Linked DNA regions of Homo sapiens: regions 1, 2, 3, 5 and 6 are each linked to region 4. The links are contacts of gene promoters, found by promoter capture Hi-C in blood cells and fetal thymus (Javierre and others, 2016). All regions are on one chromosome and are shown on one strand. Each heading gives the region's core, a stretch centred on a gene start or on the middle of the fragment in contact. The rest is flanking DNA. Distances are from core to core; before and after follow the strand shown. Region 1 has its middle 4.6 kb from the start of CDK5R2. Region 2 overlaps WNT6 (Wnt family member 6). Region 3 overlaps LINC01494 (long intergenic non-protein coding RNA 1494). Region 4 holds the start of DNAJB2 (DnaJ heat shock protein family (Hsp40) member B2). Region 5 overlaps CFAP65 (cilia and flagella associated protein 65). Region 6 overlaps LINC01494 (long intergenic non-protein coding RNA 1494).

The links. The method cuts DNA at HindIII sites, captures the fragments that hold promoters and counts their contacts. A CHiCAGO score of 5 or more calls a contact.
Region 1: a fragment that was not itself captured here is called in contact with the fragment with the promoter of DNAJB2 in region 4 in 1 of 17 cell types (M2 macrophages); the score reaches 5.9 in M2 macrophages.
Region 2: a fragment that was not itself captured here is called in contact with the fragment with the promoter of DNAJB2 in region 4 in 5 of 17 cell types (activated CD4 T cells, total CD8 T cells, naive B cells and 2 more); the score reaches 6.7 in activated CD4 T cells.
Region 3: a fragment that was not itself captured here is called in contact with the fragment with the promoter of DNAJB2 in region 4 in 6 of 17 cell types (total B cells, naive CD4 T cells, naive B cells and 3 more); the score reaches 8.3 in total B cells.
Region 5: a contact is called between a fragment that was not itself captured here and the fragment with the promoter of DNAJB2 in region 4, in 8 of 17 cell types (M2 macrophages, naive CD4 T cells, total B cells and 5 more). The highest score is 8.5, in M2 macrophages.
Region 6: a fragment that was not itself captured here is called in contact with the fragment with the promoter of DNAJB2 in region 4 in 1 of 17 cell types (M0 macrophages); the score reaches 5.1 in M0 macrophages.

The regions. Positions count from the first base shown.
Region 1 is chr2:218,952,740-218,957,349 of GRCh38, forward strand. It overlaps the pseudogene KRT8P30. Among named protein-coding and RNA genes, the nearest start is that of CDK5R2, 4.6 kb to the right of the region's middle. The HindIII fragment of the contact is 2,281 bases long and covers 259-2,539 here.
Region 2 is chr2:218,871,246-218,876,066 of GRCh38, forward strand. WNT6 (Wnt family member 6) reads left to right here. Exons shown (of 4, transcript NM_006522.4): 2 at 1-2; 3 at 240-574; 4 at 2,139-2,988. The coding sequence ends at 2,600. It also overlaps a transcript of WNT10A not described here. Among named protein-coding and RNA genes, the nearest start is that of WNT10A, 7.2 kb to the right of the region's middle. RefSeq lists a silencer at 262-331 and an enhancer at 410-1,356. The HindIII fragment of the contact is 2,323 bases long and covers 917-3,239 here.
Region 3 is chr2:218,901,760-218,906,176 of GRCh38, forward strand. The region is part of intron 4 of LINC01494 (long intergenic non-protein coding RNA 1494); the gene reads right to left. Among named protein-coding and RNA genes, the nearest start is that of WNT10A, 23 kb to the left of the region's middle. The HindIII fragment of the contact is 1,258 bases long and covers 2,159-3,416 here.
Region 4 is chr2:219,275,862-219,280,615 of GRCh38, forward strand. DNAJB2 (DnaJ heat shock protein family (Hsp40) member B2) reads left to right here and starts at 3,505. Exons shown (of 9, transcript NM_006736.6): 1 at 3,505-3,657; 2 at 3,937-4,037; 3 at 4,717-4,754. The coding sequence starts at 3,973. RefSeq lists an enhancer at 1,625-2,329 and silencers at 1,906-2,108, 3,350-3,829. The HindIII fragment of the contact is 26,435 bases long and covers 1-4,754 here.
Region 5 is chr2:219,011,097-219,015,935 of GRCh38, forward strand. CFAP65 (cilia and flagella associated protein 65) reads right to left here. Exons shown (of 35, transcript NM_194302.4): 22 at 2,772-2,948; 23 at 2,423-2,489; 24 at 2,163-2,273. CFAP65-AS1 (CFAP65 antisense RNA 1) reads left to right here. Exons shown (of 3, transcript NR_046086.1): 3 at 2,806-4,626. Among named protein-coding and RNA genes, the nearest start is that of CFAP65-AS1, 11 kb to the left of the region's middle. The HindIII fragment of the contact is 682 bases long and covers 910-1,591 here.
Region 6 is chr2:218,919,770-218,924,512 of GRCh38, forward strand. It overlaps LINC01494 (long intergenic non-protein coding RNA 1494), which reads right to left. Exons shown (of 5, transcript NR_110238.1): 3 at 1,921-1,991. It overlaps LOC124906119 (a long non-coding RNA gene), which reads left to right. Exons shown (of 2, transcript XR_007088090.1): 2 at 792-955. Among named protein-coding and RNA genes, the nearest start is that of LINC01494, 8.5 kb to the right of the region's middle. The HindIII fragment of the contact is 1,408 bases long and covers 886-2,293 here.

The sequences.
Region 1 (4,610 bases), core at 149-2,648, 330 kb before region 4:
TAAAGTGGCCTGCAACAGGACCAGAAAAGGGGACCAGTGCCTAATATGCTGTCGGTCTTTATGACCCTAGGAAGCAAATCAAACCACCCCCAGGAACAGTCTGAGTAGCAGTGGGTATGAGCACAGTATCTGAGAGGAAAGCACAGATATAAATTTGGGTTTCAGAAACCAAACAAAAAGAAATGATAGTACCACCCTGGCCCTTTAATGAAAAATGTTCTAATGAGAAAAAAAATGCTAATGGCACGGGTCAGGCAAAGCTTTCCTCCTGCTCTGTAAAAATAATGATGACAGTATAATTTGTTAACAATTAACATTTATGAACACCATGCACATGTGATATACAAGCATTGTTGAGCATTGCATGATTAAATAAAATCTTACAACCTTATGATGATAGTCCATTTTTTTTTTTTTTTTTTGCCAGTTGGTAGAACTAGCTGAAGTTTTATTTTGGGGGGAAAAAACGGAATTGTTTTGTAGCTGGAGATATGGGCAAAGGAGGTGTCCCACGCAGTAAACTCCCCTGCAGGTGGGCTGAGGGCTAGGGCTGAGCCTCAGGTGGGTCTCCCATTCCCTGTGCTCCCCTGCACAGTGGCCTCCCTCCCGGACTCTGGGGCAGCCACAGAAGGGGCAGGCTGGGAGGGGCTGCCACAGCTATTCACTTGGGCAGGACGTCAGAGGACTCGGACACCAGCTTCCCATTTCCCATTGTGGGTCTCGATCTCCCCAACCATGGCCCTGGTGGAGCTGGTGCAGCTGAAGGAGCTGGAGCCGGCGCCAGAGCCAAAGCTGGAGCCCAGGCTGTAGCTGAGGCCAAGGGCTTGTGAGGCCCCCATAGGCTGAGCTCAGACCACCTGCATAGCCACTGGTGGTCTTCTTATGGATACTCACGTTCTGCATCCCAGACTCCAGACGGCTCTCCTCGCCCTCCAGCAGCTTCCTGTAGGTGGCGATCTCGATGTCCAGGGCCAGCTTCTGGTACTCACCCAGCTGCGTGCCATGTCCTGCTTGGCCCGCTGCATGGCGGCCTCCAGCTCAGACAGCTTGGTGTTGGCATCTTTAATGGCCAGCTCCCCCCACTGCTCGGCATCTGCGATGGCGGCCTCCAGGGAAGCCCCCTGGCCTTTGAGGCCCTCAGTCTCAGCCTGGAGCCTGCTGATGTTCTGGTTCATCTCGGAGATCTGTCTTTGCACAACGCAGGTCATCCCCATGCTTCCCAGCCAGCGTCTGCAGCTCCTCATACTTGATCTGGTACGTGCTTTCAGCCTCAGCCCGACTGTGGATGGTGATCTCTTCCTACTGCACCTTGTATGGTCCACTTTTATAGACCTCAGAAGAATTAAGAAACTTGCCCCAAGGGCCCCAGGTCATAAGTGGAGGGGCTGGATTTGAACATAGACCGAATGACCTCAGAACCCACATAGGAGACCCTGCACTGTCTGTCCCTCTTAAGGTGACAAACATTTTTTGTGCGATTTGTGAATGAGTGAGATTTCTTCTTTGCCCCTCCCTCTACTGATAAGGGCATCTGAGAAGGCTGGGCGAGGTGGCTCATGCCTGTAATCCTAACACTTTGAGGCTGAGGTGGGCAGACTGCTTGAGCCCAGGAGTTAGAGACCAGCCTGGGCAGCATGGTGAAACTCCATCTCTACAAAAAGTACAAAAATTAGCCAGGCCTGGTGATGCATGCCTGTGGTCCCAACTACTTGGGAGGCTGAGGTGGGAGGATCCCTTGAGCCCAGGAATGAGTGAAGATCATGCCACTGCACTCTAGCCTGGGCAAAAGAGTGAGACTTTGTCTCAAAAAAAAAAAGATGTGGGGAGAGATCTGGGTCAGTGAGCCCCTTGTTCTGGCCCAAAGGAGGCCTGGACTCCAGGGTTCAGCCGCTTTCAGGAGGCAGCTTCTGAAACTCTAGGGCCCCTGAGTGATTCCTGTAAATCAAGATAAGAAAGGCCTTCATGGTGGTGAATACAGTCTGGGGACTGAGTACCATGCAGGGGTTGCTGGGGGCAGATGAAAGAAGAGGGCCTGGGGGCAGAGAGGAGAGGGCTGTGTTCCACTCTAGGGAGCATCTGAGCTAGAGTTCTCGAAGGCCCTTCTTTCCCCGCAGAGCCTCCAGTGAGGTTTGCACACCTTCCTGGGGCTATGCCTGATAGGCAGAGGAAACCTTCCATCTAGGGCACAAGGGTGGGAAGGCTGGACTCTCAGAGGGTCTGTGTTCATCGATGAAATCAATATAGAGGAGGAAGGGACAGGATAAGGGATATGGAACCAGATGAAGACCCAGTCACAGTGGCAGTTTCTGGCAGCCACCTGCCTGGTTGAGATGGAAACGCTGATTCCAGCTCCAGCCCCCAGACAGGCTAAGAATATCCCAGAAAAGCAACAGCTACCACCCCCACCCTTCTTGATCTGCTCCTACATCTGTAGTGCTATGCTGGGCGCCAGCGGGGCCTGGGAGGAGAAGGAGTGGGGGACGAAAGGGAGGAGGCAAAAAGGGGGCTTGGTGGAGGCAGAAGGTGAACCAAGACTTAAAGCTTCTGGTGAGTGCTGGGAGGACTGGACAGAGAGAGCTGTTCTCAGGGGACAGTAAAGGAGGTGAAGGCAGGAGCCAGGGAGTTGGAGGGAGATCAGGACAGAGGATGGGAAAGGAAGAAATGGCCCCCCTTCCATCAAGGAAAGCAGCAGAGCTTAAGGCAGGGAAAAGGAGTCACCAGCTCACCCCTGTCTTCTCTGTCCCCTTCACCCTGGGCCCTCCAGCATCTCAGCATTGGTCCCTTCTCTCCCCACCCCAGAGCATCACATTCCTCATCTGTGCTCCCAGCCCTATTCACTGTTCAAAAGAAACTATATTTGGGCTCCTTAATTAAGTCCTTCTAGCAAACAGCCTGCGAAATGGGAAGACATGAGAATTTGGGTCTCCCTCCTGACAGCTAGCAGCACCTCCTCTGTCAATTCCTCTCTTCTCTCTGCTTACCCCCTCCCCCCTCCACTGTTATCTGTAGAGGGGTTCTGCTCCCCTCCTTTGTTTTAGCCACCCACTTCTCCCCTGGGGTAAGGTCCTCAGGAGAGGGAGAGAAGTCTGGGCTCGTGCATACCCACCCCCTCTGCACACCTCAGGAGCTGAGACTGATGGGCAAGGGAGTTGGGGGTGCCAGGGTGGGGGGGGGGGCAGCAGGATCCAGGCACTCAGATGCCCAGGCTGGGTCTCCATCCTGGCTGTTTTAAGAACCTGTGTCATCATTAGCCTCCTTGTAGGGGCCCCTACAGGGAGGTGCAATGACCTTGGTTTCTGGGGCCTTTGATGTTTACTGGGGATATCCTGGGCCTCAGCCATCTTGCCCTCCTCTTCTTTGCCTTCTCACCTTTCAGGGGCCCCTCTAAAGCTTGGAGGGACCTAGGGAGATTTACATTGCTGAGAGCCTAAGCTCCCCTCCCCTTCATCTCCTGGGGTGAACCGCAGAAGTGCAGGCCTCACATGGATGCTGTGCACACAAAGACTGAGCCCATCAGACAGAAACAGATTAGGGAGAAGCAGACAGGGCTGGAGCTGGAGAGTGAAACAGATTCACAGGACAGATTTTGTTTAGAATCAGAACTGTGGAGTTGAAAGAGGCTTTAGGAATCCTCCTCTAGTCCAATTCCTAAAATGTTATCTTGTTCTTTTAATATTCATTTTTATCTGATAATAAGAGTCAAATCCGTAGAACCCTTGCATTTTAATATGATGAAACCGAGTCCCAGAGAGCTGAAATTACTTCCCCAAGGTCATACAACTGGCAGCCATAGACTAGGACTCCCGTGTCCTGCCTCCCAGACTATGGCTTCTCAGAAGGGAGATAAGAAGAGCAAAAGGGAGGCAAAGTGTGAGCAGCATTGTCCGGAGATGTTCTCTTAAAAGATGGGGCCCACCTGCCCAGGTTGGGTGAGTGAGAGGAGCATCTCTGGTGAATCTGATGGGATGCACTCATCAATAAGGCCAGATCCTATCCAGGCTAAAACCTCAGTCTAGGCCCTCCAGTTCTTGGTCTGGGCCTAGAGTATTTGCCTTAAAGAACCTTCAGGAATAACCAGTAATCTGAATAGGCACTGTTCTAGGTAACCTACAGAGCAATGAAGACAGACAAGGAGACTGGCCTCAGGGGCTTTCCCATCTAAGGAAGTCTGACACAACCAGCACTGCCCCAGAGGAACATAAGGGAGATGGAGAGATGAGAAGCAACACAGAGATACTATTATAATGAAGATAGATGAATCTCAGAATATGAACCCAAACATAACCTAACCAGAAGAGTACACTTGCAAATGTGGGAAAGCCACCAACCTTCTATGAAGCCCACCTCCTCCATGAAGTCTTTCTGGTTTCACTAGGCTTATTCCCCTTGGGCTCCCCCTGCAGAAACATAATAACCCTCCCTCTCAGCTCTCAATGCCACCGGCTTATATACAACAGCAATGTTGTTACTCTTTCTGGATCTCTTTGATTAGCTTGTCTGCTTGTCTTTAAAATTCCATCCATATCCATCTTGCACATCTTAGACCCAGAGCCCAGCCCTTAACCAAGTTGTTATGTAGCCACTGTTGCTGATGGGAAAAGGCTGGAAAG
Region 2 (4,821 bases), core at 828-3,327, 410 kb before region 4:
GGGTCAGTGTGGGGAGGGGGCGGAAGTGGGGCTGCTTTCTCCCTGCTGTGGGACCCGAGGAGAGGAGAACTGGTTCGCTGAAGTTGCCTGAGCCCCACTTCCCCCTCACATGTGTCTGGGCACCCTGCAAGGACCCTGCCTCCCAGGCCCCTGGGGCAGCCCTCCCGCCGCAGGTTTCAGGTCCCAGGCCCCAGCTGACCGCCCCAGCCCGCGCTGATTGCACCTGTCTGCATTCACAGACATTCGGGAGACGGCCTTCGTGTTCGCCATCACTGCGGCCGGCGCCAGCCACGCCGTCACGCAGGCCTGTTCTATGGGCGAGCTGCTGCAGTGCGGCTGCCAGGCGCCCCGCGGGCGGGCCCCTCCCCGGCCCTCCGGCCTGCCCGGCACCCCCGGACCCCCTGGCCCCGCGGGCTCCCCGGAAGGCAGCGCCGCCTGGGAGTGGGGAGGCTGCGGCGACGACGTGGACTTCGGGGACGAGAAGTCGAGGCTCTTTATGGACGCGCGGCACAAGCGGGGACGCGGAGACATCCGCGCGTTGGTGCAACTGCACAACAACGAGGCGGGCAGGCTGGTGCGTACGGGCAGGATGGAGTGAGTGTGTGCGGAAATGTGAGTGTGCGCGCAGGAGTGTGCTTGAGGAAGTGTTGGCAGGAGTGAGGGTGTGTAGGTGGAGGGGGGCGTTAATGTGTGGGGGAGTGCGCACGGGCGGAAAGATGGGCTGCAAGCATGGATGGACATGTGGGAGGAGAGGTGTCCAGCCTCCAAGAAGGAGTCACGTGGGGGTCTGAGAAGGCCAGATGCTGGACGGTACAGCGGGCAGAATGGGGGAAGGGACACTCAGGGAATAGGACTGAGGGTCTTTAGTGACCCCAGGCAGAGAGGGCACAGCTTCAAGACAGGACAGGTGAAGCAAAGCTTGCAGTGGGTAGGAGGTCTGGATGCCTAGGCAGGGGCAGGAGAATAAAACAAAGGTGGGGATGAAAGACAGGATAGAAGCTAATGCAAGGTCTGGGGTTTTGGTACAGGGAAGCCAGGGGGAGTGAGAGAGGCCTAGAAAGAGTTAGAACAGGTCTGAGGGGCAATGGAAAAGAGCGAAGGACAAGGAACCAATCCTAGTGGAGGTTGGAGGGAGTCAGGTGGAGGCCAGGACAGCTGTGACCAATTCTGGGCATTTGCCAACTGGCTGCCCAGCAACACCAGCCCAGGTCTCACCTGCCCAGAGCCATGGCAGCCTCTCCTCTCCCCTCTGTAACGAGGAGAGCCCCAGGAGCTCTCATTCAGGGGCAAGAAGGTTGTCTGGGTGTGATGGTTCCAGGAGGGGGCAGGGCAGACTCAGGAGGTGGGAGTGGGACACATGGTCAGGTTAGCCCCTGGACTCTGAGCTTCCAGAAATGATTTTCTTGGGTCTTCTGAACCATCAGCGCTTGGTGGGTTTGGGAATCTTAGACCCTGCTTCAGACAGTGACTAGGGGAGAGGCCGCCTGGGTTCCACTCTCAGTACTGCATTCCCAGCGGGCCCTCCTGCACCCCATGCCTCCGTTCTAGCGTTCTCCAGGGACATCGCCATACATACCGTGTCCTCTAGGGTTCGGGCCTGAGGCATCGGGCAGGGGGAGGAGGGGGCCTGAAGAGGAATGTCCGGACAGGCCCACATACCTGCCGAGAGGGTTGGGGAGGGGTGACGGAGACAGATGCCCAGGAGGCTGGCTCTGCGTCTGTGCTCAGCCCGGCCTGGGGGCCGTGAGGGGTAGGAATGAGGGGGCCAGGTAGGCAGGAGAGCTAGACTTCGACAGCTGCCACCTCTCCCCTCCTCCAAAGAGAATCTCACCCCTGCTGTCCATTCTGCTTTCTCCCCCACCCCCTGCCTTTGGACCCTGGAATCTCTGCGCTGCATATTGTCCCCGTCTCCCCTCTTCGTCATCATCATATTCCTCCATCCTCACCATTCCTCCTGCTCCTCCCCTCCGAGTTGTCCTTTCCTTGATTTCCTCCCCCTGAACTTGCGGTCTCCTTTTGTCTGCATTTTCCTCTCTTCCTTTCACCTCCCATTCCCAATCTTATTTTCTGTCCATCCGCTGGGCCCTTCCCTGCACCCCCTACCTGTCCACATGCGTCCGCCCCTCTGCCTCCCGCAGGCCGTGCGGAGCCACACGCGCACCGAGTGCAAATGCCACGGGCTGTCGGGATCATGCGCGCTGCGCACCTGCTGGCAGAAGCTGCCTCCATTTCGCGAGGTGGGCGCGCGGCTGCTGGAGCGCTTCCACGGCGCCTCACGCGTCATGGGCACCAACGACGGCAAGGCCCTGCTGCCCGCCGTCCGCACGCTCAAGCCGCCGGGCCGAGCGGACCTCCTCTACGCCGCCGATTCGCCCGACTTCTGCGCCCCCAACCGACGCACCGGCTCCCCCGGCACGCGCGGTCGCGCCTGCAATAGCAGCGCCCCGGACCTCAGCGGCTGCGACCTGCTGTGCTGCGGCCGCGGGCACCGCCAGGAGAGCGTGCAGCTCGAAGAGAACTGCCTGTGCCGCTTCCACTGGTGCTGCGTAGTACAGTGCCACCGCTGCCGTGTGCGCAAGGAGCTCAGCCTCTGCCTGTGACCCGCCGCCCGGCCGCTAGACTGACTTCGCGCAGCGGTGGCTCGCACCTGTGGGACCTCAGGGCACCGGCACCGGGCGCCTCTCGCCGCTCGAGCCCAGCCTCTCCCTGCCAAAGCCCAACTCCCAGGGCTCTGGAAATGGTGAGGCGAGGGGCTTGAGAGGAACGCCCACCCACGAAGGCCCAGGGCGCCAGACGGCCCCGAAAAGGCGCTCGGGGAGCGTTTAAAGGACACTGTACAGGCCCTCCCTCCCCTTGGCCTCTAGGAGGAAACAGTTTTTTAGACTGGAAAAAAGCCAGTCTAAAGGCCTCTGGATACTGGGCTCCCCAGAACTGCTGGCCACAGGATGGTGGGTGAGGTTAGTATCAATAAAGATATTTAAACCACCAGGGCTGGACCCACAGTTTTGGGGGAGACTGATCTTCAGGCTGCCAGGCTCCAGAAGAAGGTGGTTTTGCTAGAACTAGCACCTCAGGGGCTATCACCTGGGTCCCTATCTCCCGACCAGGTTGGCCTCTCCTGGAAACTCGCTATCTCCCCTTGGCATTCTTCTTGTTCACTCCTGTCACACATCTAGGTCCTGGATCTGCAAGCTGGAGAAGAACTAGCAATTCCTCTTTAAAGGGACAGGGGCATCAGAAGCTTCTGATGCATACCTCTTGACACCCAACAATATTTCCTTCCTTCTGGTTCCTCTTGGGAAGCTACTGGTGAAAGTGAGGAGACAGAGGGCAGTTCTGGATTCTCCAGAGCTGAAGCTTGAGCTCTCATCTTCCTCCAGAGAGAAAGAGGGATGGCATAGCCCAACTTCCAGGACCCAGAGCCTCCAACTTTCCTCCAGTCCAAATACTGCAATGGGGAATGACTCCCCCATCAAGGTATGGAGGACAAAAAATGAGCTTTGGGGTCAGACACTCTGGGTTTGCAGTTGGTGCTGCTGCTTAGAACTTTACAACAGAGGCCAAATTAGCCTCATTTTCTTTATACAAAGGGATTTCGCTCTGTTTCAGTTATCCATTGCTACATAACAAACAACCCCAAAGTAATCACTTCTCAGGATTTTTGAGGTCATGATTGGTCAGAACTCAGCTTGGTAGGTCTGCTCTATATAGCAGAACCATTGGCTTGGGTTCACATGGCTGCATTCTGCTGGAGTCTCCACTGTGCTGTGCTGGACAGTCCAAGAAGCCCCCACTCACATGTCTAGGGCACAGAGCTTCTCTTGTGCTCTCATTCTCTCCATGTGGCTAACCTGGGCTTCCTCGCTGCATGTTAGCCTTAGGATAGTCAGACTTCTTACATAAGACTGACTTTCTTTTTTTTTTTTTTTTTTTTTTTTTTTTTTTTTTTTTTTTTTTTTTTGAGATGGAGTCTCGCTCTGTTGCCCAGGCTGGAGTGCAGTGACGTGATCTCAGCTCACTGCAAGTTCTGCCTCCTGGGTTCATGCCATTCTCCTGCCTCAGCCTCCCAAGTAGCTGGGACTACAGGCGCCCACCACCACACTTGGATACGTTTTTTTGTATTTTTAGTAGAGATGGGGTTTCACCGTGTTAGCCAAGACGGTCTTGATCTCCTGACCTCGTGATCCGCCTGCCTTGGCCTCCCAAAGTGCTGGGATTACAGGCGTGAGCCACCGCGCCCGGCCAAAACTGACTTTCAAAGGAAAGTGTACCAAACTTGAAGGCAGAAGCTGTAAGTATCTTCTCAAGTCCAGCTTTGGAAGTTACATAGCATCACTGTAACTGTGTATTGGTCAAAACAGTTCACAGAGCCAGGCAAAATTCAAAGGGAGGGAAAATTAATTCCACCTCTCAATGGGAGGAGTGGCAAATAATTTGCAGCCATCATAATCTGTCCCACACCCTCACAGGATTGTTGGGAGAATTTTTTTTTGAGATATGAAAGCCTTTAGCATAGCTTGTGACACATAATTTGTCAAACATATGTTTAGTAAATGATAGTTACTGTGAGAATGGGGACAGACATATGATGCTTTGCAGATATTGGGCAGGCCCTGATTGCAAATGAAGATACCTGACTTTTAGCTGAGGCCAAACAGAAATAATGAATGGCTTTTATACCAGGGAAGTCCAGAGGTTAGTCTGAATTCAGGTACAGCTGAACCCAGGGGCTCACGTGGTGTCACAGGCTTCTTTCTCATCTCCTTCCCTCTCCCTCGCCTCTGCATCTATTGTTTCTGCTTATCTCTGCCTCTCTTGGCA
Region 3 (4,417 bases), core at 1,538-4,037, 370 kb before region 4:
AATTCTCCTGCCTTAGTCCCCCAAGTAGCTGAGACTACAGGTGTGCACCATCACCCCTGGCTAATTTTTGTATTTTTTATAGAGACGGGTGTTTCACTATGCTGCCCAGGCTGGTCTTGAACTCCTGAGCTCTAGTGATCCACTTGCCTTGGCCTCCCAAAGCGCTGGGATTACAGACGTGAGCCACTGCGCCTGGCCATTCTTGGAGCTTTAGATGTACTTCTTAATCCTCTCTATTCAGTAAATGGCAAATGCTTTTCCAGCTATCCCCGTTAAAAAAAATCCTAGAGTCATCAAACCCATTGGCAGATCGTGTTAGTTCCCCATCAGTTTCTATTTAAAGTCTGATCACATGTCACTTCCTCCATCATTCCTTCATGGTCCACGCTATCATCATCTCTTGGCTTAATTGACTACAACTGTCTCCTAGTTGCTCCCCTTGATTCTGCCATTACACAACCCCAGTCTATTCTATACCCAGCAGCCCAAGTGATCCTTCTAAAGTGTCAGTCATGTGATGTGCCTCCTCTGCTCAAAAGTCTCTAAAGTCTTTCTATCTTACACAGGACAAGAGCCAAAGTACTAAGTACAAATTAGCCGGGCGTGGTGATGTGCACCTGTAGTCCCAGCTACTCGGGAGGCTGAGGCAGGAGAATCTCTTGAACCCGGGAGGGGGAGGTTGCAGTGAGCTGAGACTTACAGGTCACCATGACTTACAAGGCGTGATAGGATTGGCTCCCTGCTACCTCTTTCACCTCATTTTCTCCTCCAACTCTCTCTCATCCACTTTACTTTAGCCACACTGGCCTCCTGCAAATTCCTTGAGCAATCCAAACACTGTCTTGCCTCAGGGCCTTTGCACCTCCTCCCTCTGCCTGAAATCGGTTTCCTCCAGATAACCGCATGAATGTTGTCTTCCTTCATTCAGGACCTCACTGAAATATCTCCTTATGAGAGGGGCCTTGTATGGTGCCTCATGCCTGGAATCCCAGTGCTTTGAAAGACTGAGGCGGGAGGATCACTTGATCCCAGGAGTTCAAGTCTACATTGAGCTATGATCAAGCCACTGTACTCCAGCCTGATTGACAGGGCAAGACCCTGTCTCAAAAAAGAAAAAAAAACCCACACAAAATAAACATAGAAAAGAGGAGCCTTGGCAGAACATCCTGTATAACATAGCAAACTTCCTCTTACCTTTACCTTGCTTTATTTTTCTTCATAGTATAGATCACATATTTGACCATATTTGTGTATTTCTTTATGCTCTGCTTCCACACTCTATAATGGAAACTCTACGAGAACTGAGACTCTGTTGTTTTTTGCTGTATTTCTAATGCCAAGAATGGTATTAAGTACATAGTAGGAACTCAATAAATATAAGTGAATGAATGAATAAATAAATAAATGTCTACAGAAATCACTACTAACTTCTGTCTTCAGGCCCAAACTTCCTTCCTATGATCTTTCTTTTTTTTTCTTTTGAGACAGAGTCTCGCTCTGTCACCCAAGCTGGAATGCAGTGGTGTGATTTCAGCTTACTGCAACCTCTGCCTCCTGGGTTCAAGCAATTCTCCTGCCTTAGCCTCCTGAGTAGCTGGTATTACAGGTGTGCACCACCATGCCGGGCTAATTTTTGTATTTTAGTAGAGACAGGGTTTCGCCATGTTGGCCAGGCAGGTCTTGAATTCCTGACCTCAGGTGATCCACCCATCTTGGCCTCCCAAAGTGCTGGGATTACAGGTGTGAGCCACCACACCTGGTCTCCTGTGATCTTTCTTGAAGTTCCAGCTGCCAGCTAGACATGTTTTAATGTATGCCTGTGATACCACCCACTCAAGCTTTATTTTATTTTATTTTATTTTTGAGACAGAGTCCTGCTCTGTCACCCAGGCTGGAGTGCAATGGCGCCATCTCAGCTCACAGCAACCTCTGACTCCTCTGCCTCCCAGGTTCAAGCAATTCTCCTGCATCAGCCTCCTGAGTGGCTGGGATTACAGGTGGCCTGCCACCACGCCCAGCTCATTTTTTGTATTTTTAGTAGAGATGGGGTTTCACTATGTTGGCCAGGCTGGTCTTGAACTTCTGACCCCAAGTGATCCACCTACCTCAGCCTCCCAAAGTGCTGGGATTACAGGCGTGAGCCACCATGCCCGGCTCAAGCTTTATTAATGCAGATTCATTATCTTATGTATGTATTTGCTAAGGGCTGAGACTTTGTTTTGTTTACTGTTCTTTTCTCAATGCCTAGCACAGTGCTTGGCATAGACCAGGCATTTAATATTTGTTGAATAAGTGAATGAATGACTTTCCCCTCCAAACCAGTTCTCCTTAACTTGCTTGTTTCTCTTTGTCACATCATCATTTTCTTAGTCACTGAACCTCAAAACTGGTGTAAACTTGGACTCTCACCTTCTCTTCTCCTTTCTATATTCAATCAGTGGCCAAGATCTGCTTATTCTTCCACTTCATTCACATGGTCAATATCCTAGTTCACCACACACCTCAAACATCACAACGACCTTCCAACTAGCCTCTGTCATTCCTCTTTCTTCCTCTTCAATCCATCCCTATCCTATTGTTCTGTTTTTCTCTCCCACGAAGTGCTCTGATCATGTCATTTCCTCTGACTAAAGCTCTCAATGGATCTTTGTACCAATTTGGGTTCTTAATTGCAAACAACAGAAACAGACTCTGGTTCACTTAGTAGAAGAGGAATTTACTGGGATGACATCAGGGAACTCAAAGAATTGACAGGAAGCCTCAAGAATCAGGCTCAGGAAGCAAGCAGGAGCCAAGAGAAGCTAGGCAGCTAGAACTTTAGCTAAATCCTGTCCCAAGTGCAGCCTGATTAAGGGGCTTGGGGGCTGCTTCCCACATGGCTACCACCACCCTGAGCACTTGCTGCTGCCACCTCTGGGATGAATTATAAACAGTCCTCTTCCTCCTTGGGTCACTTGTTGAAGATTTAGAGTCCTGACTGGGAGCATTGATTTGGCTGTGATCTTCCTGCTAGGGGCCAGGTGAGCAAGTATCTGACTTCTCACTAAGACTCACATTAGGGAGGCTCCACCAACATATGAAGGGGGCTCAGATGCTGGGCAGCTAAAGACTCCAGTGTGTATCCATATGCAGGTTCCTGAGCATTGAAGCCCTCCACCATATGCCACAAACGATCATCTCCAGTTTTTTCTCACTTCCACACCATGTTCCACTGAAGCATGACTGTGTGCAGTTCCCTGAGCAGTCCTTTCCTGCCTCAGCCCCTGTAATAGCTGGGCCCCAAAGGTGGTCCGCCTTGAATCATGCTTCACACCTGTGTATTGTCCCCTCCCCTTGAAAGGGCCAGTCCATGCTTCCTTTTCACTGAGTGTGCTGTGGAAGCGAAGCTGCATGACTGCTGAAGAGAGGGAATAGGAAGCTTTGCAGTTTTTGCCTCAGTCGCTCGGAATGTTCACTCTGGGGCAAGCCAATCACCGTGTATGAGGTCTGTCTACCCAGAGACTACCATGCTATGAGGAACCCGAAACAAGCCACATGGGAAGGCTGTATAGAGAGAGTAATGCCTGGGCAGGCCCCTTCAGTTCCAGCCAATTCAGATGAGGTGCCAGACATGTGACTTTAAAAAGTCATCTTGGGGCTGGGCTCAGTGGTTCACACCTGTAATCTCAGCACTTTGGGAGGCCGAGGCAGGCGGATAACTTGAGGCCAGGAGTTCAAGACCATCCTGGCCAACATGGCGAAACCCCATCTCTACTAAAAATACAAAAAATTAGCCAGACATAGTGGCACATGCCTGTAGTCCCAGCTTCTCGGGAGGCTGAGGCATGAGAATCACTTGAACCTGGGAGGTGGAGGTTGCAGTGAGTGAGATTGCGCCACTACAGTCCAGCCTGGGTGACGAAGTGAGGCTGTGTCTTCAAAAATAAATAAATAAATAAATAAATTTTTAAAAAGTCATCTTGGATATCCAGCCGAGTTGAGCCTTCAGATGACTCCAGCCTTAGCCACCATCTAACTGAACTGCTTGAGAGACCCCACGTGAGAACTGCCCAGCTGACTGTAGTCAACCCACAGGACTGTGGGATGTAAATGGTTATTTTTAAGCCACTGAATTTTGGAGCGGTTTGTTACTCAGTAATAGAAAATGGAAACAGCCCCTCTGTGGTCCATGTTTCCCTCTCTCTGGAATGTACCCCAACTGTCCTGCCTTAGCTCCATGTCCACTCATATCTGCTCTTGTCAAAATCCTTCCAGTGAGCATGGCACAGTGCAGAGGAAAGAGCCAGGCTTTGGGGTCAGCCTGTGCGGCGGGAGGGATTGAATCCTAGTTTAGTCTCTCACTATCCCTGTGACCTAAGGCAAAGTCATTAAGTTCTCTGGACCTCAGTTTCTGTATCTGCTATATTGAAATAAAAAC
Region 4 (4,754 bases), core at 2,255-4,754:
ATGCACATTTAGTATACACTTTGTTCTACACCTTGTTTTTTCAGTTAATAATAAATCTGGAAGATGGTCCATATGAATACTGTTAGCTATGCCTCATTCTATTTGGTCACAATATAATATTCCATCGTATAGCATACCAACACTTGTTTTACCAGTCTGCTATTAACGGGTATTTAGATTGTTTCCAATCTTTTGCTATTAAAAAGAATGCTGCAACCCTTGTATGTATTTTTTTTGCACATATATATGACCATACATTCTTAGAATTGAGATTTCTGGGTCAAAGATTATGCATTTTAAATCTTGCTCTCTTTAAAAGTCACACCAGGCCGGGCACGGCGGCTCACGCCTGCAATCCCAGCTACTTGGGAGGCTGAGGCAGGAGAACTGCTTGAACCCGGGAGGCAGAGGTTGCCGTGAGCCAAGATTGCACCATTGCACTCCAGCCTGGGCAATAAGAGTGAAACTCTGCCTCAAAAAAAAAAAAAAAAAAAAAGTCACATCAAATTACCCACCCTCCCACTACCAATCTATAAGAATGCCTGTGCCCTCAGCCTTGCCCATACAATGTATTCAACTTTTTTCTTTTTTTTGTCTTTGTCAATCATCCAATAAGTGAAACAAAGTATTTTGTTAGGGCCATGTGCCCGGGTGCAGTGGCTCTGGCCTATAGTCCCAGCACTTTGGGAGGCTGAGGCAGGAGGATCATCTGAGGCCAGGAGTTTGAGACCAGTCTGGCCAACATGGTGAAACCCCATCTCTACAAAAAATACAAAAATTAGCCAGGGGTGGTGGCACATGCCTGTAATCCCAGCTACTTGGGAGGCTGAGGCAGGGGAATTGCTTGAACCTGGGAGGTTGCAGTGAGCCAAGATAGTGCCACTGCACTGGAGCCTGGATGACAGAGCAAGACTCCATCTCAAAAAACAAAACCCCAAAGTATTTTGTTGTAGCTTTATTATTATTATTCTTTTAAAAATTATTATTATTTGAGATGGAGTTTCACTCTTGTTGCCCAGGCTGGAGTGCAATGGCACGATCTTGGCTCACTGCAACCTCCGCCTCCCGGGTTCAAGTGATTTTCCCGTCTCAGCCTGCCGAGTAGCTGGGATTACAGGCATGTGCCACCACGCCTGGCTACTTTTTGTATTTTTGGTAGAGACAGGGTTTCACCATATTGGCCAGGCTGATCTGAAACTCCTGACCTCAGGTGATCTACCCGCCTTGGCCTCCCAAAGTGCTGGGATTACAGGCATGAGCCACCATGCCTGGCCTGTCGTAGCTTTAGTTTACAGTTTTTTTGTGAATGAGATTGAGCATCTTTTCATTTGTTTAAAAGCCAGTATTTCCTCTTCTGTGAGCTGCCTGTCCCTTTGTCCATTTAAAAATGTCATTGTCTTTCATTAGTTGGCATTTCTTTGTGGACAAAGGAAATTAAACCTTTGTCTGCTAGATGTGCTCCATATAATTTCCCTCAGTTGTCATTTGTCTATGTCCTATCCCCTTGAGCACAGAGATTGGAATTTAAACTTTTTTATATTCTTTTTCTTAATATAACAAGACATACACGGTAGGTGCTAGACAAATGTCTGTTGGCACAGCAGAGTAAGAAGAAAAAGGCAGAGATCTGGAAAATTTGGAGTGACTTAACCCAACCACTCCTTCCTCTTATACCAAGTCTAACCCTTAGTCTTTGTGTCAGTCAGGACTCTTATAAACAGCAGAAGCTAACTGGCAAATTGTTTCAAGTCCCCTGCCCCCAACAATTATAGAGATATCGGATAGCACACAGAATCAATGCAAGGGCCAGCAAACAAGGGTCAGCAATCAGACAGGCACCTAGGGAAGCTGGGCAGCCAGTACCACAGTCAAGGTTGGGCACAGGACAGCCTGTGTAGGAGACTCCTGTCCCCTCCACCCTCCGCAGTGATCCTCCTACTCTCGTCCCTCACCTGCGGCAGTAGCGCTGACACTTCCTCCTCCAGACACTAGAGGCCGCTGTTGGCCCCATCGCCTCCACCGCCGCCGCAGAAATGAATTCCTAAACCAGCCTTGCTATTCCGTGACTTGCTCCAGATTCAAAGTCCCAGTTGGAGCATCCGATTGGCGGAGCTCATGTCTTCTGCCTGCAACCCCAGAGCCGAGTCAGGGAGAGCAAGCATTGGGGCTTTGTGGCAAATGGTGGCCTGCTTTCCATTAGGGCCCTTGCGATGGGAATTCCCCAAATGTAGGCAGGAGGTTCTGATGGTGGGCAGCCAGGAAACCAGGACACTCACACCACCTTCTTCTCTCACGTCCGCCTCAAACCCTTCTCGTTGGCGAAGTATTCCTGGGTCCCCCAGCCTAAAGCACTTTTCTGGACTCACATAACCATTATTGCTTGAGCCAATCACGATGCCAGCAGGACCGCAGTAACACCTAATTCGTACCATGTCTCATTTGACTTTCAAACAACCCTAGGCACTACCTATATTTAGTGAGAAAAAAAGAGTGCTCAGAGATTTTCCCAAGTCTCACAGTAATGCCAGGTTGTACTCTGTTTCCAAAGCCTCGGGTTTCCCAGCGGGCTACACTGATGGGCTGGTATCTTATCAAGTTCAAGCTCTGCAAAGGCAGGGCTTGGGCCACATTCTTCTTTATACGGCCTGGCAGCATCTTGAATGCAGAAAAATGCTCAGCTAACGCCTTTGGATTGGCCTGGATGGGATCAAGCAGGAGCCAGTTCTGGAAGGTTTCCTAACTCTCCAATGAGGCCTGAACCCAGGGAGCATTTTGAAGTGGAATAGGCCTACTCAGGATCAGTTTGGGAAGACTTGAACCTGGGGAATTCCGTTGTACGGCCCCCTTTACCTCACCTCCCCCAAATGTGTCAAAACTGTCAACAAGAGGTTTGCAGGTGTTCATTATTTATTCATCCCACGGGTAGTTTTGAACCCCTACGACTGCTCTAATAGACCAGTGAGAAAAAACACACAATTCCTGTCCTGTGAAATCGACATTCTAGTGGGGGAGGTGAATGGTAATAAAAAATAATCAAACCAATAAATGCTAATTTGTGGCTCTAACAAGCCTGATGAAGGAAATGCCACGAGATGCTGTAAAAGGCAGTTCTGACCTACTCAGGAAAGCCAGGGCAGCCTGCTGGGGGACCTGGGGCTGGAGCTGGGAGCTGAAGAAGGGGGAGGAGTTAGAACCGTGGTGGGGGGAGGGAGGGAAGAGTCTGAGTCCTCGAGGTGGGTGAGTAAGCATGGATCATCGCTCATGTTTATAAGAAAGTGACAGAGGAACCTGGGGGCCGAGCGGCTTGTTTGTGGGCTGCCCCAGCCTCCGTGCGAGCGCTTCTCGCTTGGATGGAGGCGGGGCCGCAGTCTCCCAGGTCCCAGCTGGGGCTGACGTCGTCCTGGTGTGTGCCCAAAATAGCCGGCTCCGCCCTCTTCTCCCGGCAGCCCCTGCAGGCCCCCACCCCCCCAGGGGACAGGCGGAGCCGGCCTTCTCCCCGTCTCTAGTAGTTTCCGCACCGCTGACGCATGCCTGCGCGCACAGCTGGGCCGGGCGCGTCCTACGCAGCAGCCGCGAGCCGGGCTGCGGGTGCCAGACGGTTCCCGGCGGGGGGCAGGGGCGGGGCGCCGCAGGAGGCCGGGACTCCTGGCGGAGGAGGTGCGGCCGGGGGCCCGGGTCAGGCTGGGGGCCCTGGATCGGACTGCTGGAGTTGGGGGGCCCCGATAGGGCTCCTGGGCCTGGGCGTCGAGATAGCTCTTGGCCCCGGCCTGCGGGGGCAGATAAGGCTGCCGGAGGGAGCCTAGTCACCGGCCGCAAGCAGAGCCCGGTGTGCTCCGCTTCCAACTGGGAGCGCCTTCCGCCACCCGGGGAGGGGGACTGCTGCAGCCACAGGGTGGGGCTCTTGGTTCTTTCCGCCTGACTCCTTCTCTTCTGCAGCCCCAAGGAGGCCCGCCTGACGACTGACCAGTTGCCATGGCATCCTACTACGAGATCCTAGACGTGCCGCGAAGTGCGTCCGCTGATGACATCAAGAAGGCGTAAGTGCCTCCGTATGCAACAGAAGACCTCTCACCCTCCACCCGCCACCACCATGGGGCACTTCAGAGTGACACCTGTAGGTGTCTGAGGGAACCAGGTCGTTAGAAAGCACTGGGGTGCTTCTTCCGAGTGACACCTGCAGGGAGGAAAGAGACCCCTGGTAGAGTACAAGGAGAACGTCCAGAGAGTGAAGTAGTTAGTTCCTCTGGGAGCTGCACTGTGTTATGGGTTGTTCTCCAGTTGATCTTCCCCTCCTCCTCCTCCTCCTCCTCCTTTCCCCTCCCCTCCCCCTTCCCCCTAGATTTGGGCATTCTCAGGCTGCAGTGCAAAGATGCAGTGCAAAGAGGCTCTATGAGGAGGAGGGGCCGGTGTCCCTGTACTCTTCGAGGCCACATGTGCCCCAACCTTTGCAGCCCCAGTCCAGTGAGCCCTAGGGAGGGGCTAGGGACCCTGGCATTGTATCCGCTTGTACATGTGGTCCCAGCACTGGTGGCGGAGGAGAGAGGGTGGAACTTGATGAAAATATCACAGCAGCGGCAGCCCTAGCAGCTGGGGTGGACTGGGACCCGGGGGTGAAAGGACAGTGATAGGCTAATGGGAAAACAGGTCGTTCGGTTCCTGGGTGGGAAGTGCCTGCATTTGTCCCCCGACTCTCTCCTCTGCACCCACTTTCTGCAGGTATCGGCGCAAGGCTCTCCAGTGGCACCCAGACAAAA
Region 5 (4,839 bases), core at 1-2,500, 270 kb before region 4:
ATGATGTCACCCTTTGAGTCTGTGAGCTCCCGTGTGGCTTGATCACTCGAGAAGTATGTAACTGTATGGTCAGCCGGTGATATTTTAGGATAATCTGTAATCTTATTTGTAAAGGAGTAGCTTATTTTATTTGTCTTCAGTTTAACTTCATCAAGTTTTTTTTCTTTTTCTTTCTTTTTTTTTTTTTTTTTTTTTTGAGACAAGGTCTCACTTTGTCACCCAGGCTGGAATACAGTGGCATAATCATGGCTCACTGCCGCCTTGACCTCCTGGGCTCAAGCAATCTTTCTACCTCAGCCTGCCAAGTAGCTAGGACCACAGGCATGCACTACCACACACAGCTGCTTCAAAAATATATATATTTTTTAGAGATGGGGTTCTCACTGTGTTGGCCAGGCTGGTCTTGAACTCGTGGCCTCAAGCAATCCTCCCACCTTGGCCTCCCATATTACTGGGATTACAGGCTTGAGCCACTGCGCCTGGCCAAGGGAGTTCTGCTTAAAGGCAAGTAAGGGGGCGGAAAAGTCTGAGGGACTAAAGACCAACTCCAAAGGTTGGGAATCATAGAATGTCCTAGAAGAAACCAGAGATCTTCTGATCCAATCCTTCCTTTTAGAGATGAGAAAATTGAAGCCAGAGAGAATAGAGTCCATCTGGATTCAGTCCCAGCCCCTTTTCCCCTTTCTGAGCACTCACTCCTGAGCATGCTGACTCTATTTCTCTAGCCTGGACCACCCTTTGAGCTCCAGACCTGGTACTATGGGTTAAATGCTTGTGTCCCCACAAAATCCATATGTTGAAACCTAATCCTCAATACAATAGTATTAAGAGATGATCAGGAGGTGATTCGGCCACAAGGGCGGAGCCCTCACAAGTGGGATTAGTGCCCTTATAAAAGAGGCCTGTGGAAGCTTGTTTGCTCCCTCCACCATGTGAGGACACAGCAAGAAGCCACTGAACCAGGAAGTGGGCCCCCACCAAACCTGCCCATGTCTTGATCTTGGGCTCCCCAGCCTTTTTAATTAAGATAAATTATAATAAATTAAATTACAATAAATTATAATAAATTTGTGGTCTTTATAAGCCACCCAATCTATGGTAACTTGTTTTAGCAGCCAGAATGGACTAAGACACTTGGTGTCCACCTTCTACCTGACAAGCCCTCTTGGTTGTCTCATTAGCATCTCAAACTTGGCCAGAACCAAACTCTTCATTCTAAAGCCTATTCCTGCTCCCAGTTTATCTCCTTTTAGCAAATGGCACTATGTATTCCCAGTAGCTCAAACCAGCTTCACTGTCACAGACCCTAGTGGGGCTGCTGGGAAGGCAGAGGGGTAGCGGGTGGGTATGGAAGTGAACAGAGTTGGGGATAGGAAACTCCCCTCTAGATCCAGGAAGCCCATTCCTTGGCCTCTAGGGTGAATGGCTGGAGGCCCCTGCTCAGAAACACATGGGCTTCTAAATGATTAGAAATTGCACAGCTGTGAAATGTTTGGGAAAATATTATGTCCCCCTCTTGGAGATTACCAATCTACATTTCCAGAGCAAGGAAACTGTATTGCCTTCAATCAGTAAAGAAAGAAAGGTCTAAAGCTTCCCAAGAATTCACATTCTAGTTCTTCACATTCCAGAAGGACATCCTTTTTGGAGCAGTGATTTTCAAATTGTGGCTAAGACCTACTGGTGAGCAGATCTAAATCAATGTTGTGGGTCATGCCCAGCATTTAAAAAATTGGACAGAATAGAACAAAAAAGAAAATATCAGTATACTTTGCATGTAGTAGTATAATTATCAATTTGCAGTAATTCTACTTTGGTTGTATGTTTATGTATATACTGGGGTGTAAGCATATATAACATCAAATATATTAGTATGGTTCATGGTCAAAGAAGTTTGAAGAACATTTTGCTAAAGGAAAAAAAAATCCTCATTTTTTAATTGGAACTGGGCCTGGCAAAGGGCTTAGCACCAGGAACTAGGACACTGCAGCCTCTCCCTTCAAGTCTCTCCCAGTTGCCCAGTCTGGGGGTTCAACCTGCTGGCCCAGCCCCTCAATGCTTCCAGAGGGCCATGTCTTTGTCACCCTCTCAAGGGCTGACACTCATACCTAGAGATCAACACTTAGGCCTTCTTGGTCAACAGGACAATGTGGACCACTGACCTGCCGTGGGGGTAGCGTGTCACCAATGGGAATGGGGATGAACTGGTGGGTAGTAGAGGTGAAGTGCACATACTTCTGCTCCGGCTTCACTGTCACACCTATGAAATTTAGCTGGAAATAAAAGTTCCCCCGGAGGAACTGACACAGCCAGTGGAGATCTGGACCCCAGTTCCCCAGGAGAACACAGCTCCCTGCTCCTGTCCAGCCAGCCCCCTCCTCCAGCCTGAAACTAGGGCAGGGCCAGTGTGCTGGGGCCTCACCAGGATCTCCCGGCCATGGGACACCTTGAAGAGCACTGGGAGGTGATCAGTACCGATGAACAGGTGGCTAGAAAGAAACAGATAAGTCTGGGAGTGAGTTCTGGAGCCCTGGTACAAGTAGGAGAGCAAATGGACATGACATTTCTGTGGCTTTGAGCTGGCCAGCCCCTGGGAGCAACTCGCCCTTGAGTTGGGATGGGGCAAGAAGGAAATTAGACCTCCTCTGCAGGTGAGAAGGTGGTCCTCCCAGGGAATGGCCATTTGGGGTGCCCTGGAGTCATACAATGAAATGCCCGGGGTAGGGGCCTCTATGACTGGAAGTGCAGGGGGTTTGGGGGGTGGGGAACACCTGTATTTTAACTCCACCATCTGCTCCTGCCCAGGACTCAGGCTCCCAGCCTTGGGGCTGATGGAGAAGAGGCAATTGTCCTGCACGCGCATCTGGTGGAGCTCAGTGGAATTCAACTCTGCTTGCTCTGCCCAGAGCTCCACGTCAATCCGCTGGTCACTTGGAAGGAGGAAGGCCCTGGGAGAGGGGTGCAAAGCCATACAAAGAAACTGGTCAGGCAGAACAGAGAGGCAGGGGCTCTGAGACCCTGATGGGCAGGTGGAGGCTTCTTCCATGACTCCCGCACTTCATGCACCCATTTGGCAAACTGTCCCATGTGTGCCTGAGCAAATGTGGCTGTTGTGGATTCTCGTTTCATAATGGCCCCAAAACCCAGGAACAGACTCTGGGCCACGGCGACTCAAGAAGTGAAGAGTGGGGCTCCCACTGTGGATGCCAGGAGTCAAGGTGTTGCTTGAATATGGGGGCCACTTTGAGCTGGCCATGAACCCTTCTGTGACAAAGCTCTTGGGAAAGGGCCATTTGGGACACCTAGGAAGGCTGGCAGCACCAACCAGCAGCCCCAGGGAGTGGGGTGTCCAGGCCAACTTGGGCACAGGGTGGAGAACAGATGCCCCAGCAGGGCTGGCACTCTTGAAACAGAAGCAAGGCTGTGCACAGAGTTAATGCCCCTGACATGCCTAGGACTGCGGTAAAGTAGATAATGCACCTTAAGTAGCCGACAAAACTAGTGACAAAGGGTCCTGAGGTCACAATCTGAAAGGAGAACCCATTTCACTCTCGGAGATGGCACAGAACTGGTTCCAGCTGCAAACCGGGTGGAGGATACGATAGGGAGCATCCAGAAAAGGAAAAGAAAGTGCCCAACACACACCTGAGAGAAAGCGCACAACGCACACCTGAGAGAAAGCACGCAACGCGCACCTGAGAGAAAGCACGCAACACACACCTGAGAGAAAGCACGCAACACACACCTGAAAGTGCGCAACACACACCCGAAGAGAATGCGCGCAACAAACACCTGAGAGGAAGTGTGCAACGCATACCTGAGAGCACGCAACACACACCTGAGGAGAATGCATGCAACACACACCTGAGAGGAAGCACGCAACACACACCTGAGGAGAATGCATGCAACACACACCTGAGAGAAAGCGCACAAAAGCAACCTGAGAGAAAATGCACAACACACACCCGAGGAGAATGCGCACAACACACACCTGAGAGGAAGCGTGCAACACACACCTGAGGAGAATGCACGCAACACACACCTGAGGAGAATGCGTGCAACACACACCTGAGGAGAACGCGTGCAACACACACCTGAGAGAAAGCACACAACACACACCTGAGGAGAATGCACACAACACACACTTGAGAGGAAGTGCACAACACACACCTGAGGAGAATGTGCGCAACACACACCTAAGGAGAACGCGTGCAACACACACCTGAGGAGAATGCACGCAGCACACACCTGACGGGAAGTGTGCAACACGCACCTGAAAGAAGGCACGCAACACACACCTGAGAGAAAGCACACAACGCACACCTGAGAGAAAGCGTGCAACACGGGCCTGGAAGCCTCAGTAGGAGTCAGGGAGGCCTAAGTCCAAACCCTCAGAAGGAACCAGTCTTAACTTTTTTCACATCTGAAGCATGAAGAATAGTAATATTCAACACTGGTAAGTTCAGAAAGAACAGACTCAAACATAGGTGGGTGGAGAGGGAACTGCTCAACCTCTTGGACGGAAGTTTGGCAGCTTATGCCCTTTGACCCAGAAGTGTCTGTTTGGGAAACCAATTCATAGGAATAAAAGCACATATGTGTGCATGCTTATGTGCACGCAACGCACACCTTTGTGTGGATGTCTATCACCACTTTCTTTGTAGTGGTCATGAAAAAAAAGCAGCTGGGAACAATTGGAGTTTCCAATAGAGGAGTGATTTAACGATTTAAAGTCCATCCATATTGTGGCATATTATACAGCTATTTAAAAGAATGCGTTAGATATATGTATTGATCTAAAGGAGATGTTATTGATATAATGCTGAGTGAAAGCATCAT
Region 6 (4,743 bases), core at 340-2,839, 360 kb before region 4:
CATCCTTATGTTTAAGGTGTGTCTTCTATAACAGCATATAGTTGTTTTTTTTTTCTTGTCCAGTCTGAAAATCTTTGCCTTTAATTGATTTATATTATGGTAATTACTGATACTGTAGGGTTTAAAGTATACCATTTTGCCATTTTTTTCCATTTTTCACATCTGTTTTTTGTTTCTTTTTACCTCTTTCTTGCCTTCTTTTGGATCAATCAATATTTTCCTAATTATTTCATTTTCATCCTCTATAAATTAGTAGTCACGTGTTTGCTATTATTGTTATTTTATTACCCACATATTATAGCATGCATCCTTGGCTTAATTAGGTCACCCTTGAATTAGTACTTTCACCCTTTTCTAAATAACTCTAGGGACCTTATGACACTTTAATTCATTTTAGCATTCTCCTGGCTTTCATGTTATTGTTGTCATGTATTTTTTTTTTTTTTGAGACAGAGTCTTGCTATGTTGCCCAGGCTGGCCTTCAACTCCTAGGGACAATGGATCTGCCCTCCTCAGCCTCCCGAGTAGCTGAGATTACAGGAATGTGCCACCACACCTGGCTACAGCAAGGCTTTTGACAAAAATGGTTGAAAGAATTCAAAACTGAGGATCCTAGTGCTGAGGGTGGGATATTTTGTGTTATTGGTCAGTAAGAATGTCTCTTACTTGAGATATGAATCCTGAAGGTGGTAAGAGTTGATTTATTTAGACAGAGTTAATTTTAATTAGTGAAAACTGAAGAACTGACTTGTATTTTGGTCTGACGTATGATTGTTTCAACTTTGCTGCAGTAGCACCTACAAGAGGACCAACATTCTCCAGGAAATTCTGTCCTTTAAAACCATGAGATGAATAATCTTGGTCTGGAAGATATTCATAGAAAGAAGCTTAGAATGTTTGATTTTTGAGCATGAATTAACTGTACAGTCATCAATTAAATAAGCTGATCCACTGAGTAATTGTTGAGATGATCCTTCTGGATGCTGAATAATGCTAGCCTAGAATGGGGATTTGACATTGATATATTCTTTCCTATTAACAAATCCAGTTTTCTTTCTTCCTCCCATCCTCCCTCCTTCTTTCTTTCTTCCTTTCTTTTCCTTTCATTTGCCTTCCTTTCCTTCCTTCCCTTCCCTTTCACAATATTTTACTTTAAAAAAATTATGAAATCCATCATGTACACTTCAATGTGTTAAATATATATGTACATTTTAAAGATTAATAGTCCAGTGAACATCTGTGTACCCACTACTCAGGGTGAGAAACAAATATAACGATGGTCTCGTGTGTTCCTTGTGGGCTCTTCCCCAATTCTTCCTTCTCCACAGAGACCACTTCCACCTGCCTTCTGTGGTAGTTATCTTATAATCCTCTTCATAATTTCTTTCTTTTTTTTTTTTTTTGAGATGGAGTCTCGCTCTGTCGCCCAGGCTGGAGTGCAGTGGCATGATCTCAGCTCACTGCAAGCTCTGCCTCCTGGGTTCATGCCATTCTCCTGCCTCAGCCTCCCGAGTAGCTGGGACTACAGGCACCCGCCACCACGCCTGGCTAATATTTGTATTTTTAGTAGAGACTGGGTTTCACCGCATTAGCCAGGATGGTCTCGATCTCCTGACCTCGTGATCCGCCCGCCTTGGCCTCCCAAAGTGCTGGGATTACAGGCGTGAGCCACCGTGCCTGGCCCCTCTTCATAATTTCTAACACCTCTGAATTCTTCTACTGTATATATATATATATATATACACACACACACACACACACACAATTATATATATTTATATATACATTATATATATACATTATAATGTGTATATATATAATGCATATATATAGTAGAAGAATTTACTTTCTATATAGTAAATTTTGTGTATACACACACATACACATACAAAACTGGATCAGTAAGGAATTTACACTTACTTCTTTAGATGAAGACCCCCAGGAGAGGGTAAGATGACAGAGTCTCTGGGTCAGAAGTGACCTCATTTTCCCTGAAAGTTTACAGGGCAAAGTCACAAGTGAGTCTGTTATGTTTGGGGTGTTTGTCCTCTTCAAATCTCATGTTGAAATGTAACCGTCACTGTTAGAGGTGAGACCTGGTGGGAGGTGATTTGATCATGGGGGTGGATCCTTCACAAATGGCTTAGCACCATTTCTTGGTGATGTTCTCTCCCAGTTAGTTCACATGAGAACTGGTTGTTTAAAAGAATCTGAGACCTCCCCCTTCTCTCTTTTGCGCCCTCTCTTCACCATGTGATGTGCTGGCTCCCCTTCACTTTGTGCCATGATTGAAAGCTTCCTGAGGCCTTCACAAGAAGCTGATGCTGGCACCATGCTTCCTGTACAGCCTGCAGAAACGTGAGCCAAATCAAAGCCTGTTTTCTTTATAAATTACCTAGTCTCAGGTATTTCTTTATAGCAGCACAAGAATGGACTAACACAGAGTCTGTGGGAAATAGGACTCAAAAAATTGGTGGCAGGGTGAAGTGTCACCCAAATACTGGCCATCAGGCAGGAATATGGTCAGGGGGAGTAGGCTGCTCTTATTTTCTCACTCAAAGTTCCCACAGCCTACTTTCAGCTCTCGGGAATGGGTGAGAACAAAACATTTTTGTGGGAGTGAAATAAATATCTTTAGATAATCCACGTAGGAGGGTAAGGAGGGAATAACAGGAACTTCATCAACACATGATATATTAATCCATTTTAACTATAAAGAACTACCTGAGACTGAGTAATTTATGAAGAAAAGAGGTTTAATTTCCTCACATTTCCACAGGCTTAACAGGAAGCATGGCTGGTAACTTACAATTGTGGTGGAGGGGTTAGGGGAATCAAGCATGTCTTACCGTGGTGGAGCAGGAAAGAGCGAGAGTGAAGAGGGAAGTGCCACACACTTTTGAACAACCAGATCTTGTGAGAACTCACTCTCACAAGAATAGCAAGCGGGAACTCCACCCCAATGATTCAATCACCTGCCACCAGGCCCCTCCCCCCACATGTGGGGATTACAATTCGAAATGAGATTTGGGTGAGGACAGAGCCAAACCATATCATTCCACCCCTGGCCCCTCCAAAATCTCATGTCATCACATTTCAAAGCCAAGCATGCCTTCCCAACAGTCCCCCAAAGTCTTAACTCATTCCAGCATTAACTCAAAAGTCTAAGTCCAAAGTCTCATCTGAGACAAGGCAAGCCCCTTCCGCCTATGAGCCTGTAAAATAAAAAACAAGTTAGTAACTTCCAAGATACAATGGAAATACAGGAATTAGGTAAATGCTCCCATTGCAAAGGGGGAAATTGGCCAAAACCAAGGGACTACAGGTCCTATGCAAGATCAAAACCTGGCAAGGAAGTCATTAAATCTTTTTTTTTTTTTTTTTTTTTGGAGACAGAGTCTTGCTCTGTCACCCAGGGTGGAGTGCAGTGGTGCTATCTTGGCTCACTGCAACCTCCACCTTCTGGGTTCAAGCAATTCTCCTGCCTTAGCCTCCCGAGTAGCTGGGACTACAGGCACATGCTGACATGCCCAGCTAATTTTTTGTATTTTATTAGAGACAGGGTTTCACCGTGTTACCCAGGCTGTTCTTGAACTCCTGAACTCAGGCAATCCACCCATCTCGGCCTCCCAAAGTACTAGGATTACAGGCGTGAGCCACTGTCCCTGGCTGGAAGTCATTAAATCTTAAACCTCCAAAATAATCTCCTTTGACTCCATGTCTCACATCCAGGGCATGCTGATGCAAGAGGTGGGCTCCCAAGGCCTTGGGAAGTTTTGCCTCTGTGGCTCTGCAGGGTACAGCCCCCATAGCTGCTTTCATGGGCTGGCATTGAGTGCCTGTGGCTTTTCTGGGCACATGGTGCAAGCTGTCAGTGGATGTACCATTCTGGGGTTTGGAGGACGGTGGCCCTCTTCTCATGGTTCCACTAGGCAGTGCCCTGGTGGGGACTCTGTGTCAGGGCTCCAATCCCACACTTCCCCGCTGCACTGCCCATGAGGGCTCTGCCCCTGCAGCTGACTTCTGCCTGGACATCCAGGCATTTCCATACATCCTCTGAAATCTAGGTGGAGATTCCAAAACCTCAACTCTTGCCATCTGCACACCTGCAGGCCCAACATCACATGGAAGCTGCCAAAGACTTGGGGCTTGCAATCTCTGAAGCAATGGCCCGAGCTGTACCTTGGCCCCTTTTAGCCATGGCTAGAGCTGGAGTGGCTGGGATCCAGGGCATCACGTCCCAAGGCTGCACAGAGCTGCTGGGGCCTGGGCCTGGGCCATGAAACCATTTTTTCCTTCTAGGTCTCTGGGCTTGTGATGGGAGGGGCTGCCTCAGTGGTCTCTGAAATGCCCAGGAGACATTTTCCCCATTGTCTTGGCTATTTAACTCTTCTTTACTTATGCAAACTTCTGCAGCAGGCTTGAATTTCTCCCCAGAAAATGGATTTTTCTTTTCTACCACATGGCCAGGCTGCAAATTTTCTAAACTTATATGCTGTACTTCCCTTTTAAATGTAAGTTCCAGTTTCAGATCATCTCTTTGTTCATGCATATGAGCATACACTTTTAGAAACAGCCAGTTTACCTCCTGAATGCTTTGCTGCTTAGAAATTTCTTCCAGCAGATACCCTAAATCATCTCTCTCAAGTTCAAAGTTCCACAGATCTCTAGGGCAGGGGAAAAAATGCTACCAGTATCTTTGCTAAAGCATAGCAAGAGTGACCTTTACTCTAGTTCTCAATA